Linked DNA regions of Homo sapiens: all the other regions are linked to region 2. The links are contacts of gene promoters, found by promoter capture Hi-C in human tissues and cell types (Jung and others, 2019). All regions are on one chromosome and are shown on one strand. The core of a region is centred on a gene start or on the middle of the fragment in contact, and the rest is flanking DNA. Distances in the headings are between cores, read along the strand shown. Region 1 holds the start of TULP4 (TUB like protein 4). Region 2 holds the start of EZR (ezrin). Region 3 overlaps LOC112267968. Region 4 has its middle 27 kb from the start of FNDC1.

What was found. Contacts are between HindIII fragments. The study calls those that stand out against the background at their distance.
Region 1: the fragment with the promoter of TULP4 here is called in contact with the fragment with the promoter of EZR in region 2 in 1 of the 25 tissues and cell types used here (adrenal gland).
Region 3: a fragment that was not itself captured here is called in contact with the fragment with the promoter of EZR in region 2 in 1 of the 25 tissues and cell types used here (dorsolateral prefrontal cortex).
Region 4: a contact is called between a fragment that was not itself captured here and the fragment with the promoter of EZR in region 2, in 1 of the 25 tissues and cell types used here (hippocampus).

The regions. Positions count from the first base shown.
Region 1 is chr6:158,310,964-158,314,700 of GRCh38, reverse strand. TULP4 (TUB like protein 4) reads right to left here and starts at 2,236. Exons shown (of 14, transcript NM_020245.5): 1 at 433-2,236. The coding sequence starts at 684. RefSeq lists an enhancer at 533-612. The HindIII fragment of the contact is 2,154 bases long and covers 1,672-3,737 here.
Region 2 is chr6:158,817,727-158,821,403 of GRCh38, reverse strand. It overlaps EZR (ezrin), which reads left to right and starts at 2,036. Exons shown (of 14, transcript NM_001111077.2): 1 at 2,036-2,087; 2 at 3,238-3,322. The coding sequence starts at 3,311. It overlaps EZR-AS1 (EZR antisense RNA 1), which reads right to left and starts at 3,425. Exons shown (of 3, transcript NR_102425.1): 1 at 3,299-3,425; 2 at 811-932. RefSeq lists silencers at 1,753-1,802, 1,863-2,852, 2,993-3,192 and an enhancer at 3,403-3,452. The HindIII fragment of the contact is 16,325 bases long and covers 1-3,677 here.
Region 3 is chr6:159,075,375-159,078,907 of GRCh38, reverse strand. All of the region lies in intron 3 of LOC112267968, which reads left to right. Among named protein-coding and RNA genes, the nearest start is that of TAGAP, 32 kb to the right of the region's middle. The HindIII fragment of the contact is 4,721 bases long and covers 1-3,533 here.
Region 4 is chr6:159,140,352-159,143,952 of GRCh38, reverse strand. No RefSeq gene overlaps it. Among named protein-coding and RNA genes, the nearest start is that of FNDC1, 27 kb to the left of the region's middle. The HindIII fragment of the contact is 6,118 bases long and covers 1-3,601 here.

The DNA.
Region 1 (3,737 bases), core at 987-3,486, 510 kb after region 2:
GGCAGCACCACTTTCATTTTTCACACTGTCAGTGGGACATCAGGGGTGGGGGTAACTCTTTGCCATGTAGACTTGGAGCACGAAAAGTTGGTTAGGATCATCTAATTTAACCCCCCACCCTGGTTAGAAAGCGCCCTGGCCTCCCTACTGCTGGGCGTCTTCCCACTGCCCGGACCCTCTAAGAGAGACAGTGCAGGGAGAGGACAGCAGGGGTGCCAGGGACAACTGACCCACCTGGGGAGGCGCAGCCTACTGTGAACTATGTCCATCTTAGCATCTTTTCTGCCAGAGAATAAGAGACAGAACTCACAGCATGGGAAGTCTCACTAGGCAGCAAGTCTATGAAACTGAAATGAAGGAAGTTTCAAGTCCACAAGGGGCTCAAAAACACCACTGGAAGTGACCAAAAAGTGAAACAAAACCACAGCTCACCTCGCTATTGTGGCCCCGGAGGTTGAAATTTATCCTCTGTGGAGTACTCCTGTCCCTGCGACAGTGACTAGAGGTGAAAGTCACCCCAACCACTCCTCGCCCGTTGCCCGTGGCCAGCCAGCCTTCCTCATAGTAGCGTCTCCTGCACACAGGCTTCTCCTTCTCACTCTTGGGGACACGCCCCTTCCAGGACAGGCACAGGATGTTGGAATCGCTGCAAAGCACAGGCCCATGTTCCACTGCTGCATACATACTTTCTTCAATGAACTGTTTTACTTAAAAAGTAATGTTAATGCTGTGAAATTTAAACCAATTTCTTTCATTGGTATATGTGTTTTTGTGGTTGGCTTGCGTTGCTTTTTTCCCCCTTTAATTAAGACTGACCTGAATCTAATTAGAAGGTCAGTATTTTATAAAGATCCACCGAATGCATAGTGAAAAAATTCCTCTATAAAAGATGATGGCAGTCTTCTAAGAAAAGGTAATGCTTAAAAAAACATGGGGTCCATTTGTATTTTCAAGTTCTCAGAGGAAGAACGTGCTGATCCTTTGGAGAAAGAGCATCGTTAATTAAGTGGTGATCAAGAAACGGTTTTCTTCTTTTTACTCCACTTGGTTATTCTCATTCAGCCTGAGATTCCAGTTTAGTGTAATATGATTCCAGAGACAAAGGGTTGCAAATACATAGATTTCAAGTAACTTAAGGCTTTAAGAATCCCTCTAGCTCGAATTTTTCTCTTCAAAAGTTCGGATGCAGAGACAGAATACACAGGATCATCTTCCTTCTGAAGCCACCCTCTAGCATGTTTCCTGAACTAGACAAATTTCTGCTGCTAAAGCTGAAAAAGATTGCATAAAGGGAAAAAAAGGCACACAAACCGTGCAAAACAGACCAGAGTTTGTGCAGACAAGAGTCCAAATTTTAGGAAGAAAAACAGACTCTCTCCTTGTTGTTTCAGAACCAGAAACTTTCCACCTCAAAGCTTGGCCCTGTGTCCCCGGGGAACGCAGGGCTCCATCGGACTGCTCCTCCACCAGCCGGCGCACCCCTCAGTGCCATAGAGGCTAGAAAGAAGGCCCCTTCACTCAAGAGGCAGAATGTTCCAGCGCTCTTACAGTGGTCCCAGTGTTTGCCCTGGGTGAGTCTTAAATCCTCTTGCTGACAAAACAGAGCCACGTGGCAAGATTTTGTTTCTTTTGCTCGTCTCCCTTCTCGCTCCCCCAGTTAGCACTCCCCTTTTCTGCTCCTAAAGATCTTTTTCCATCTTGATGAAAAAAGCTAATCTTAGAATTAAGTCCATCAGGTAATCTTCTCATACGCAAGTCTTCTTGGACTTGACAGGGAAGTTAATCCCTTAAAACAAAAGCAGAAGCCAGAGTCAGATTCCCCCAGCTGTCTCCCTAGAGAGTGATAGTGTTTTGCTGATGGGTGCTTTCCTGTTCACATTCAGAGACTGTCTCCAAACACCACACCACTAGTCCAACAAAAAGAAAGCTTTGCTTGGATTTTCCTTGATATTTATTTAATAATTATTGGTTTCAATTGCTATTTTACAATATTATCCTATAGATGCAGGAAAAAAGGGGGGGAATAATAAATTAAAATTTCTCAAATACAGTTAATTAAGATAGGCAAAGGAATCAGTTCATTATTCAAACTTGTCCCATCATACTTGAACTTGCTTTCCTCTAGCCATAACCACAGTAGGAGTTACTTTTCAGTCTAGAATTTTAATCCGTCCAAATCACCAAACCCACTGAAAAATAAAGTGCAACAAACACTGTGTGAGCCGCTGCAATGTTTGAAATCACACTTCTTTCTCAGTCACCTTCTCACTTAGTTCCTTCTTTAAACTGGAGAATATTTTTGTGGTTTAATCTGCGCAAATTTTTTTTTCTTCTTTTTGCAGACTTTCTTTACCCGTGCAGACCATATGGAAAACTGGCCATTAGTGATGTATTTTTCTCCCCGGGCTCCTGAGCCCACTGGTGTCAAGTTGCTCCATCTGATTCTTAAATTAATTTTCATCAGTTGTAAAACTCTCAAGTGTGCACAAGAATGAGCCTGTCTTCCCGTGTGAATGTGTAAGTACAGAAAGAAGGTTTTAAATGCACATAGACACACACTCTTCAACTGCCATACGAAGCGTCTGCTTCCCCAGTCATTTCAGGAACCATCAGATTATTCACGGCTGGGAGGCCCTGGAGTCTTACAAATCTGTTTAAAAAAAAAAAAAGATATAAAATTTAAAAACTTTAAAACACTGGAAAATAAAGGTTTTAAGAATAATTGCTGAAACTGAAATGAGAGACCCATCTTTACACTTACATCAAATGGAGCTACTGACTGCACTGAATGGTAAAATCCAATAGTGAAAGGATACACCTCACCAGACTCAAGACAACACACAACAAATGAGAGTTCTGCCTGCCACTGATCGTTGTATTCAATTTGTCAGCAGCTGGGCACATCTGAATGAAATCATAACTGCCATTCTTCCACACTGAACTGTACTTTCTAAGAGACTGAACTCCGAATGTGAGACTCTACCCCTCCAGAGACCATGGTCGCTGTTTAAGCAGGCATCCTCAAAAAGGAGACTGAAATGACTCAGGCAAGTTATCTGGATTGATTTTTTCACGATTAATAAAAGATATTCCCTCAAGACACAAAGCAGTAAGGGCCTTTAAAACTCATTCGTCCCTGATGGCTGGCAGGTCTCGGAGCAAAGCGCAGCTGTTTTCTAAGCTTTTATGTGGTCTACCAGCAATAAAGTTCTAGAGAATCTGTCTCTAGCAAATCCATTCCATCTTCTTCCTACTGCCTGAAGTCCAGGCTGCATCACATCCTCTACAAACACGAGAACACTCTGTCCCTAACTTACTCATCCTCCCTGCCCTCCCGCCCCGCCAGTCCTTCCAGAAAGCAGAGTGGACTTTCTCAAATTCAGCAGACTCTCTCAGTCTCCTGGGGCAGCTGAAGCGGCCCAGCCCCATCCCACAGGAACTGGACACTGAAAGGGAAGGGAAGGGCCCAGGTGTTCGCATTTCTAATAAGCTCCCAAGAGATGCTAATGCTGCTGGGCAGGGAACCAGGCTTTGAGAACTACTGGCCTGTAGCATCAAGTCCCAGCAAAAGACTCTACTTTCATCATAATACTAGGACATAATTTGCCTTCTTCCGTGTTCACATTTGTACCCATGGTGCAAAATCAACAGTGGGTCAAACTGCAAGCTCTTTAACACTAATCAAGGTAGAGGTACCAACTGCACCAGTAGTCATAGATTAAAAAAAAGAAAGAAAA
Region 2 (3,677 bases), core at 787-3,286:
AACCCAAACTGGCTAACCAGGCTCCAGGCAGTGATAAGGCAGTGGAGGTATTGATGTCCAGTTGGAAACATTATCAGTGCAGGTAATTTAAATATCTTTCATAGTTTTCTTTCTACTGCAGTTACCATTATATCTTCATTTTATTTATTTATTTATTTATTTTTGAGACGGAGTTTCACTCTTGTTGCCCAGGCTGGAGTGCAATGGTGCGATCTTAGCTCACTGCAAGCTCTGCCTCCCGGGTTCACACCATTCTCCTGCCTCAGCTTCCCGAGTAGCTGGGACTACAGGCGTGCGCCACCACACCCAGCTAATTCTGTATTTTTAGTAGAGACGGGGTTTCTCCATGTTGGTCAGGCTGGTCTTGAACTCCTGACCTCAGGTGTTCCACCTGCCTCGGCCTCCCAAAGTGCTGGGATTACAGGCATGAGCCACAGCGCCCGGCCTATAACTTCATTTTAATAAAAAAGAAATTCAGGCCAGGAGTGATGGCTCACGCCTGTAATCCTAGCACTTTGGGAGGCCGAGGTGAGCAGATCACCTGAGGTCAGGAGTTCAAAACCAGCCTGGCCAACATGGTGAAACCCCGTCTCTACTAAAAATACAAAAATTTAGCTGGGCTTGGTGGCGGGTGTCTGTAATCCCAGCTACTCAAGAGGCTGAGGCAGGAGAATTGCTTGAACCTGGGAGATGGAGGTTGCAATGAGCTGAGATTGCGCCAATGCACTCCAGCCTGGGCAAGAAGAGCAAAACTCCGTCTAAAAAAAAAAGGGAAAGAAAAGTTCAGTCTTTCAGAGGGAATACACTTACCTGAATAGAGGTCAAAATCTCAGAAGAGGCCTCCCTCCTCTCTCTGACCTCTGAAATGCCCTGGATCTGCAAGTGGGAGATAACAGGCCCTGACAAAGGGTTGCCCAAACAGCAGTGTGTCCCTAGGAAGACAGGTTAAGCATCAATTACTATGAGGCTAGCACGAGTTAAGCATTCCACATGCACGATCTCATTTAATCCTTACAAGTCTATGTAGGTGGGGCTACTAGTATGTTCACTCAACAAATTGGGAAACAGAGTTTGGAACTTCGCCCAAAGTCATTGGTTTCTCTTTCTACCAGGATAGATTTAAGTGCTTACTAAGTGTCAGGTACTGTTCCAGGCATCGTACATGTACTAACTCATTATCCTCATTAGAACCCTCTGATACAGGTGCCATAATTATGCCGCTTTACAAACAAGAAAACTAAAAGCAGAAAGGGAGGAGTAAACCCAGGAGAGGAATTCAGGAGAAGCTCTGGTCTCAACCTTTAGCCAACATCACAATCACCCGAAGGGCTTGTAACACACTGATTGCTGGGCTCAGCCCTAGAGTTTCTGAATCCTAAGGCTGAGCAACACCTAATTTCCACTTATGCAAGTTCCCAGTGAATGCTGTTGCTGCTCGTCTGGAAGCCAGACGTTGAGAACCCCTTCTAGAGTGAGCTCTCCCGCAGCAAATTCTACTGGCCCCCAAAGTATGTGTTTTGTGTGTCTTAAAAATTTGTTGAGAACCATTAGCAAAAAAACAAACAAAAAAACTTAATTCCTAGAATTTCAGAGAAATCCCATGGAGCTTTTTGCCAGTCACGTCAAAAGAGGCCACAAACGTGCCACTTAACCAGAGCTTCGGAAAGGCGGCGGCTGGGCCGGCCACGTGCACCGAGACTCGGGGCCAGGTGCAGCCGCCCCAGGGCCGAGGCCTCGGAACTGGCCCCCGGTCCCGGCCCCAAGCGGTCCAGCGATTCCCCCAAGCCGTCCGCCCCTCCAGATTTATTTACGTTTTCCTGACTTCCCCCTGCCCGCTGTGGGACAAACAGCCTCCCCACTTGCATCTGCGAGGGGAGTAGCGCGCACTTCCGCCAAGTTCCGCCCCCACCCAGCCCGAGGCCCGGCTGCCGCCATCTTGCGGGGGGCGCACCTCACAGGTCGGGAGCTGGGCGGGAAGGGGCGTGGTCCCGGGACCCGCCCCGCCGGGGCTTTTGGGAGCGCGGGCAGCGAGCGCACTCGGCGGACGCAAGGGCGGCGGGGAGCACACGGAGCACTGCAGGCGCCGGGTGAGGCGTGCGGCGGCCGGGGTCGGGACGGGGGTTCTGGGCGGGGGGTTCCTGGTGGAGGGCCCGGGCGGGCGGCGGGGTTCGGCGGCAGGTGCGGCGGGCAGCCTAGGGGGCGCGGCGCGGGGTTCTCGCCCGGCACCCCCGGGGCAGGTGGAGCTGAGCCGGCCCGCGGCCCCGCGACCTTCCCCTCGGCGCCGGGTCCCCTCAGGTCTCTCCCGAAGGAAACGCGGAGCCTGGGTGCCTGGGCGCCGTCCCTCGGCGGCTCCCGAGCGGTTGCAGTTTTTGAAAGAGTTTCTCAAAGGCTTGACGGTTGTGACTGCAGCCGCGGGGCAACGGTTGCTACACAAAGTGAAACTTGCCGAGTGCTCGGCTTCTCACGGGCTTCCTGGCAGCCCCGGGAAGTTCCTCGGCGGACCCCGAGCCCGCGCCCCCTCTCCACGGATCCCTCCCCAGCGAGTGCCCCCCCGCCCGCCCTGTGCCCCCTCTCCCCTGACCCCTCCCTGTCGGGTGCCCCGCGGGCTCGCGCTGGCTGTCCCGGGACTCCTTCCTCCTAGGTGTTCCTCCTGCCCCTCGCCCTCTCTCTCCCAGGCGCGCGCTCCCTCTCCCCGGGCCTTTCCCCGCCGGGTATCCCTGGGCCCGCGCCCCCTCTTCTCCGCCTCTCTCCGCTGGGTGCACCTCGAGTGTCCCCCAGACCCCTCCCCGCCCGGCCGGCGCTCTCTCCCCTGACCCTCCTGGCCGAGTGTTCCCCGGGGCCCGCGCCCCCTCCCCCCGATCCTCCCCACTGAGTGTTCCCCCTGCCCTCTCTCTCCCGGGCCTGCGCCCCCCACCAGCCCCTTCATGCTGGGGGTCCCCTGGGTGCGCACCCCCTCTCCTCGGACCCACCCCCAACTGGGGGGCACCTCCAGTGCCCGCCGGCTGCCCCTTGGGCGCGCGCCCCCGCTCTCGGGCGCCTCCTCGCCGGGGGCCCGGCCCGGCCCCGCCCCGCCCGTGCCCCCTCCCCATGCCCGCAGTGCTGGGCGGGGCGCTGACTCACCCGGGCCCGGGCTGGCCGGTTCTTAAGCGGCAGCGCGCTGCGGGCGCCGAGTGTCGGGCGCGGCAGGAGGACGAGGCAGGGCGGGCGGGCGCTCTAAGGGTTCTGCTCTGACTCCAGGTTGGGACAGCGTCTTCGCTGCTGCTGGATAGTCGTGTTTTCGGGGATCGAGGATACTCACCAGAAACCGAAAATGCCGAAACCAGTAAGTTGCCCAGTTTCTGGGCCGGGCGGACGGGAGAGGCTTCATTGGAGAGGGGAGGCACCTGCTCGAGGTGTTGGGGCAGTTCCTGGGGAACAGGGTTCTTCTCACACGCAGAAGACGATAGGAATAGGAGGAGGTTTTCGCCGCTCTTTGTTACTTGTTGACCCTTTTGTGGAGCGTTAGGAAAACACCATTTTGATGCTTTTCTCTGCAGTCTTTTTCTTTGTGAGCCCCCTCCCCAGTAGTTACGGTCTTTTCTAAAAACTAGAGGCCTTTTTACACTGCTTCCGTCTGTTTTTAAAGGGTATAGTAATACAACTTAGAAGTTTCTTAAAAAGTCCAAATCACAGGGAGA
Region 3 (3,533 bases), core at 163-2,662, 260 kb before region 2:
CATCCCAGGCCCTCATCATCTCGCATCTGACTATTGCACCTGTCTCCTTACCTGCTCAGCCCATTTCATCCTTCATGCCACCACAGAGGAGTAGTGGCTTCAAGACTGATCTCATCTAGCACCCGCCTCACCTCACTCCCATCTCTTCCAATCCTCAATGGCAAACATCATCTCAATAAAACATCAGTAACATCACCTGCCTTCTTATGAAGCCCCTCCAGCTAGTGTGGCACTAAGAAGGTTTACTCTCTCCTACTTCCTCCCTCTCCTCCCATTGTGCAGGGAAATACTTGGAGTTTCCCAAACTCCCCACGCCTCCCATTCCTGGGTCACCTTGCTGAGTCTTCTCCAAGTCTCTTGCCCCTTTTTCTCCTCTTTGGGATAGCCCACTTCAGCGTCAATGTCACCATGTCATGGAAGTCCACTCCAGCTGCCGCAGGTAGAGTGAGTTGTTCCTTCCTCAAGGTTCCCACTGCCTTTGGCATTGCCTCCCTCTAATTGAGCCAGCCCAGGTGACTTCCAGATGGGGCAAACCTTATCCACCTTGGGCCCTCACCAGCAGGGTCTCAACAGAAGTTCGCTGGATAAATGAAGAAATGCTGAACCAATAGTAGTAGTTCATTTCTATCCAGTAGCTATTTTAGCCAGAAATTTCCAAAATGGCCATACAGGGCAGCAGCATGATAGAGAGCAGGCTGGTGATTTAGCTGAACTTGAATTTGGTCCCAGCTGTCTATGGGGGTCTTAAGCTTCTAGATGCCAGTTTCGTCCTCTGTAAAATGTGGATAGTAATAGTACCACAGCATAGTGGTGACAGGGAGATTAGAAAAGACAGTTATTAGGCTGAGTGTGGTGGTTCACACCTGTAATCCCAGCACTTTGGGAGGTCAAGGCAGGAGGATTGCTTGAGCCCAGGAGTTTAAAACCAGCCTGGTCAACACAGCAAAACCCTGTATCTACAAAAGAAAAAAAAATAGCGAGGCCTGGTAGCTCAGTCCTCTAGTCCCAGCTACTCAGGAGGCTGAGGCAGGAGGATTGCTTGAGCCCAGGAGTTCGATGCTGCAGTGAGCCATGATTGCACTACTGCACTCCAGCCTGGGAGACAGAGTGAGAACTCGTCTCAAAAAACAAAACAAAACAAAATAGTTATTGAAAAATCTTTATCACAGTACCAGGCACAATGAAAGTGCCCCAGAATGCCGACTTTTTTAAAAAGCGCCTGGATCCACTGATCTCTAGTTTTATTATTCTGTTGTTCCTGAATCTCTCACAAATCAAAATCCAATTTCATAAGTGCTTTCTCTCTTCAATGATAAGGAGCCAGATGTCTGCTTCCTCACTAGAAGGGTACTGGGAGAGAGACTTCACTTGATCTGGTCCAGAGGGGCTGGCAGATGGCAACCACAGGGCGGTGGGCCTGGAATCTGAAGACCTGGAAAACCCATGGTTTACCACGGAAACCATGACAGGACCTCACGTTAACACCCAGCCTTCCCTTTCCTCCCCGAGCCTCCCAAGCCCCCTCGCAGTGAAAGGACAGAGGCCACCGTGCTGGCAGCTGGAAGCCCACTCTGTGGTTTGACCTTTATTGTCCTCCCACATACTGCAGAGTGGGCTGCGCTGCTATTACTCACGGGCCGCCTCGCTCGCAGCACTGAGGGCTGGGGAAATCACAGGCACTGGCAGCTTCTGACTGGTTCCAGAAGAGCCTCGATTAACATCAACTGCAGACCAAAGCGTTTCCCATCCACACCTTCCCTTCTCTTCTGAACACAGGGATCTCTCCTGCAATTGCTTTTGAGAAGAAAAGGACTTCATGGCAGCCTCTCTTTTCTCCCCAACAACCACACCTTTTAAGAAACTATTGTCGCGATCCTACTTTGAAGACATTCAAAAAGTTTTCTAATAGCTGCAGACGTGGCAAAGGTTTCTTTTTAGCAAAGCCTTTAATACTGCATGTCTGCTGCAGAGTGACACTTGACCAGTTTACAGCATCGGAATCTTATTGATTTACCTTCATCACCTCTTCTGGAAATAAGCTTCTCACACAGCTCTTTGCCTCCCAGGCGCTGCCCCAGAAGGGAGCACTTGTAGAAGTCAGTAGTAGTGGCCAGACATGGTGACTCACGCCTGTAATCCCAACACTTTGGGAGGCCGAGGTAGGCAGATCACTTGAGGTCGGGAATTCGAGACCAGCTAGCCAACATGGTGAAACCATCTCTCTACTAAAAATACAAAAAAATTAGCCAGGTGTGGTGGTGCACACCTGTAGTCCCAGTTACTCGGGAGGCTGAGGTGGAAAGATCACTTGAACGCAGGAGGTGGAGGTTGCAGTGAGCCAAGATCACACCACTGTCCTCCAGCCTGGGTGACAGAGCAAGACTCTGTCTCAAAAATAAGTAAATAAAAAGAAGTCAGTGGTAGTTCCATGGGCGAGACAGGGCCTCATATGACATGAGCAGGATGCACTGACTGCTTAACTTGGTTCACGAAGCAAGAAACAGGTATTACAAATAAATCTTTCAGCATGGGGTGGGGCATGGAGGTGGCAGGAAAGGATGAGATTTTTTTATCAACAAGTTTGTTGAATTGAACTCTGTGTTGGATGCTATGCTACTCCACTGAGGGGCTTTCAATCTCATTGGAAGAAGATGACTCATGCACAGAACACACGTAGCCATTTATCCCATTAACTTCTTTGGAACAGCAGTTCAAGTCCCAGTAGATGATTTCATTAAGAAAGTCTTGGGCATTAAGACTGGGAAAAATGATATACCTCATTCCCATTTTAAAGATTGACACAGCACAGCAGCCTTCCGGAGGGTCTGGGAAATCCTGCCAAACAGAAATTGCTTAATTTTGTACAGCAGTCAGGATAGGATAGGTCATGCTCTAACAAACAACTTAAAAACCCCCGTGGCTTAGGATCACAAAAGTTTATTTCTTGCTTGCGCTAACACATCGTGGATCAGCTGCAACTCTGCTCCACGTTACCTTCATCCCAGGACCCCGGCTGATGGAACAGGCTCTGTTGAAGAGAGAAGAGACGTAGTAAAACATTCCCGGGCTCTTAAAGCTTGAATTGCAGGCGATATGTGCCTTATGCTAGGCACAAACAGAGCAGAGAGAGTATTGCACTTGGATGCAAGCAGCCCCACAGGACAGAGCTGGGGTGACAGAGCAGGACTCCCATCACCCAGGAAGGGCCTGGCAACAAGCCCAGACCCAGAACAGCAGTTCCTTTAGGAAGTGGCAAGTAGGCGCTGTGGGTCAGAAACAAAACAAAACTAAACTAAACTAAACAAAAAGAAAATCTACACCCCTTCAAAGTAGACTGGAGAAGGCAGGTGAAATGGATCCAGTTCGAATCCAGAGGCATAGAAAGTTGACTAAGTCAGCGAGGAAGCTACTGTTTCATAGAGGGTTTCCAAAAGGTTCTCTGCCTGGGTTTAGGGAGTCCTTAGGCATGGCAGGTAAGAACATTTGGGTGTGTGTCTGCAGGGGCTGGAAGACTCCAATTTCAACAAGGAGTA
Region 4 (3,601 bases), core at 442-2,941, 320 kb before region 2:
TTTCTTTATAAATTACCCAGTCTCAGGTATGTCTTTATTAGCAGTGTGAGAACGGACAGCTACTACATCCTTGCTGGAAGTTTCTAGTTAGGGTGGCCACAAAAGTGATCATTGTGCAAGATTTGGAGGGAGAAAGGAAATAACAGCCATGTGTGGCTTGCACATTGTCACTTAAATGCTGGCTCCCTCACTGGCATGAAGGGGTGGCCACCAGGCCTGCAGCTGTGCCTCCTTCCTGGGATTTCCTCTCCAGCCTCTCTGATTCTTGGGCCAGATGTGCTTGTATCTAGCTCCTAGCTCCTACCAAAGGTCCAGCTTTTGCAGAACACCCAAGCCATTGAGGTCAGAACAATGACAGTGGACACAGCTTCCAGTGTCCTGCTCTGCTCTGAGTTTGTTCTTGGATTCCAAGACTTACATCCATCTTTCTTTCCTCTCTGCCTGCCCTGCACTCTTCAACCTTCAGCATCAGACATGAAAGCAACAGCCCTAAGGCAGGGACCTCTCAACCAGCTCCCAGAATTGTGTAGAGTCAAGTGTCTATAACAAAGCCCTTAATATTTGTGTGTGTGTTTGTGAGTATGTGTTTTCATGTGTGGAATATATATCAATAGCTAGATGATAGATAGAAGATAGATAATAGATAAGTGATGGATGGATCGATGGATCAATAGATAGATAGATAATTGATAGATAGAGATATGTCTATTTCCCTCAGTGGTTCTGCTTCTCTGACTGAACCCGGACTGATACAAGGGGCTTGTCAACATTATCATTGCCAATATCATTGCCAACATTATCAATCATAAAAGAATTGGCTTTCTAAGGTCATGCTCTGTGTAAGCCAAGTCTTTAAAATGATTCATTTATTTTCTCTTTCCTTCAAAATTACTGAGGCAAATATCATCCTCCCCGTGTTATAAATAGGAAAAGAAACAGCAGTCCCTTAAGGAACAATGGTCTGATGCACCCGTCTTTCAAGAGTTACTGTGGAGGAAAGACAAAAAGAGGATCTAGAGGGCAAACTGGTCCCCTACCCTTGTTTATCTTTATCAGAGGCCAAGGCGCCAACCTCAGTGTCTGGGCCAGATTAGGGACTCAGTAAATATGATACATTTGGTTCATAAAAATTAAATCCCTTGAACGTTTTGCTTTGAAGAGCTGACTTCTCTTTGCTTTGTTAAACAAAACTCTTCTGATTACTTCTAACCAGGCTTGAATCAGGGATTACTTGGCCTCTGGGCAAGCTTAAAAGTGAAGCAAGTCAAAGCAAAGCATAAAGTGAGAGCATGATTTTTGCATGGGGTTTTTTTATGTATTGGTTTAACCAACTTCTTTACTTTCCTGAAGGTCTAAGATATTTGGGACCTTACACAAGAATACACATGCATTGCAGAAACTCCCTGAACCCATAAAAGTTTAATATGTCAAATACCGTACAGCTGTATTCTGCACCATGGATGTGGTAGGTGCCCCTGTACTTATAGTGCATATGGATCCCAGTGCTCCAATGCATGGATGCAGGAAATAGAACTTTCTTTATTTTCTGTACCTCAGCTGGATTTCTATTTTAATACCCCATCCTACCAGGATGAGGGAGAAGAATCTCACTCAACTCAAGGTCTCGCCTCTCCTTTCCCTGGAGCTGTGTCTAAGTTCTAGGACACCTAGAGGGTGCAGAGGCTTTGGGGAAGGTACCGCCAGACCCTCATTTCCTCTGTCCACTCAAGCCCCTCATGTTCCTGACTACATCATCCTTTGTACGCAGCAGCTGTCCTCATGACTTCTGTGCCACACGTGAGGACATAGGGACCTTTTGGCAGCTCCAGCAGCCCATGGGGTACCTGGCTCAGAGAGGTTCAGAGAGGCCGGACCCAGCACACAGCCTGTCTCCACCCTATTCTGCTACTTGAATGCTGTATGGGAGAGGTCAAGTGGCAAGGAGGACCTGAAGATGACACATGGGCTAATAGGTCCCAACTAATTTCCTGCCCCACACATTATTAAACTTTGTCATCTGTATGTTTTGCAGGTTTGGGCAAGAGTTGGATTCCCTCCAGGACCTCAGCTGGGCCTTATGTTCCTACATGGCCTTGCTGCTAACAGAGTTCCCACCCAGACACTCTCACTGTTGCTAATAATATTGTGTGGACGACCTCTACTGAGACATGTCTTAGGGTTCATACCATACAAAGGGCCCATATCTGAAGTTAGAATTCCCGGAAGTAGACCCTAAGATAACGATTTGTGATATGGTTTGGCTGTGTCCCTACCCAAATCTCACCTTGAATTGTAGTTCCTATAATCCCCATGTGTCATGGGAGGAACGCAGTGGGAGGTCACTGAATCACTGAATCACAGGGGCAGTTACCCCCAAGCTGCTGCTCTTGTGATAGTGCGTAAGTTCTCACGAGCTCTGACGGTTTCATAAGGGACTTTTCCCCTTTTGTTCGGCACTTCTCCTTCCTGCCACCATGTGAGGAAGGACATGTTTGCTTCCCCTTCCACCATGGTTGTAAGTTTCCTGAGGCCTCCCCAGCCCTGCAGAACTGTGAGTCAATTAAACCTCTTTCCTTCATAAATTACCCAGTCTTGGGCAGTTCTTCATAGCAGCGTGAGATGGACTAATATAATCTGTGTGTAGGTGATTTATTGATTATGACACCAGCACTCCCAGGGCAGATGAGGAAGGGAGTGACAAAGGCAGGATGGGAAGGAGGAGGAGGCCTAGTGAAGGCCCCACAGAGAGCATCTCCAGCTGACCCTGCAGAGGAGCCCTATGGTGTAAAGCTCAGGGTAGCCCCTCAGGAGGCAGGGGCTGGGCTCCAAAGAGCTGAGCTCCCTGCTGCTCCCCCAGCCCGAGGGAAGTCCTTTAGAAAGGGTAAGGGAGTGCAAGAAACTGATGAGGGGGCTCAAGGGAAACTGAGAAGAGCCTGGGCATTGACCAGGAAGTCCAGCACCCTCCAATTGACTGCACAGGGGATGCAAGGGGCTCTGAGGGCAGGTGTGGGAGGGAATGGGTGCCAATGACTTAGTGGCTGTGTACACAGGGCCAACAGAGTGAACAGAAGAAAGTGCTTTTTAAAAAACTTTAAACAAGCATGTGCACTCCTTGGGTTCACTGAGATTCTTTACCATTGAATGTCAGCAATAGTGTGACTTTTTGAACAATGGCTTTAAGCTTAAAATTTATCAAATAGACAGACCACAAGAATGTCACACAATGCAGATAGTGATTGTCAATAACACCGAACATCAGTTGGCACGTGGCAGGATGCACCATGGAAAACTAGCTTTGTCTGAAATTCACTTTACAGGTATTTGAGGGCCCACAATGTATTTTATATATATTCATATAGATGTGTTATCTATTTTCAGAAAAAATGATCTCATAAAAATTCAGGAATTCTTTTACAATATTCTAAATATGATATTTTTAAAGGAGCATTTGTTCTAGAAAATTTGGAAAACTTAGAAAGGAGATCATTACTTCTAACTTTTTGAAGCACCTTTTTCCTTATCTAGAACAGCATGGCTCAAGGTGTGACATGTGGGGTTCCACACCAGCAGCATCAGCCTCACCTGGGAACTTGTTAGAAAT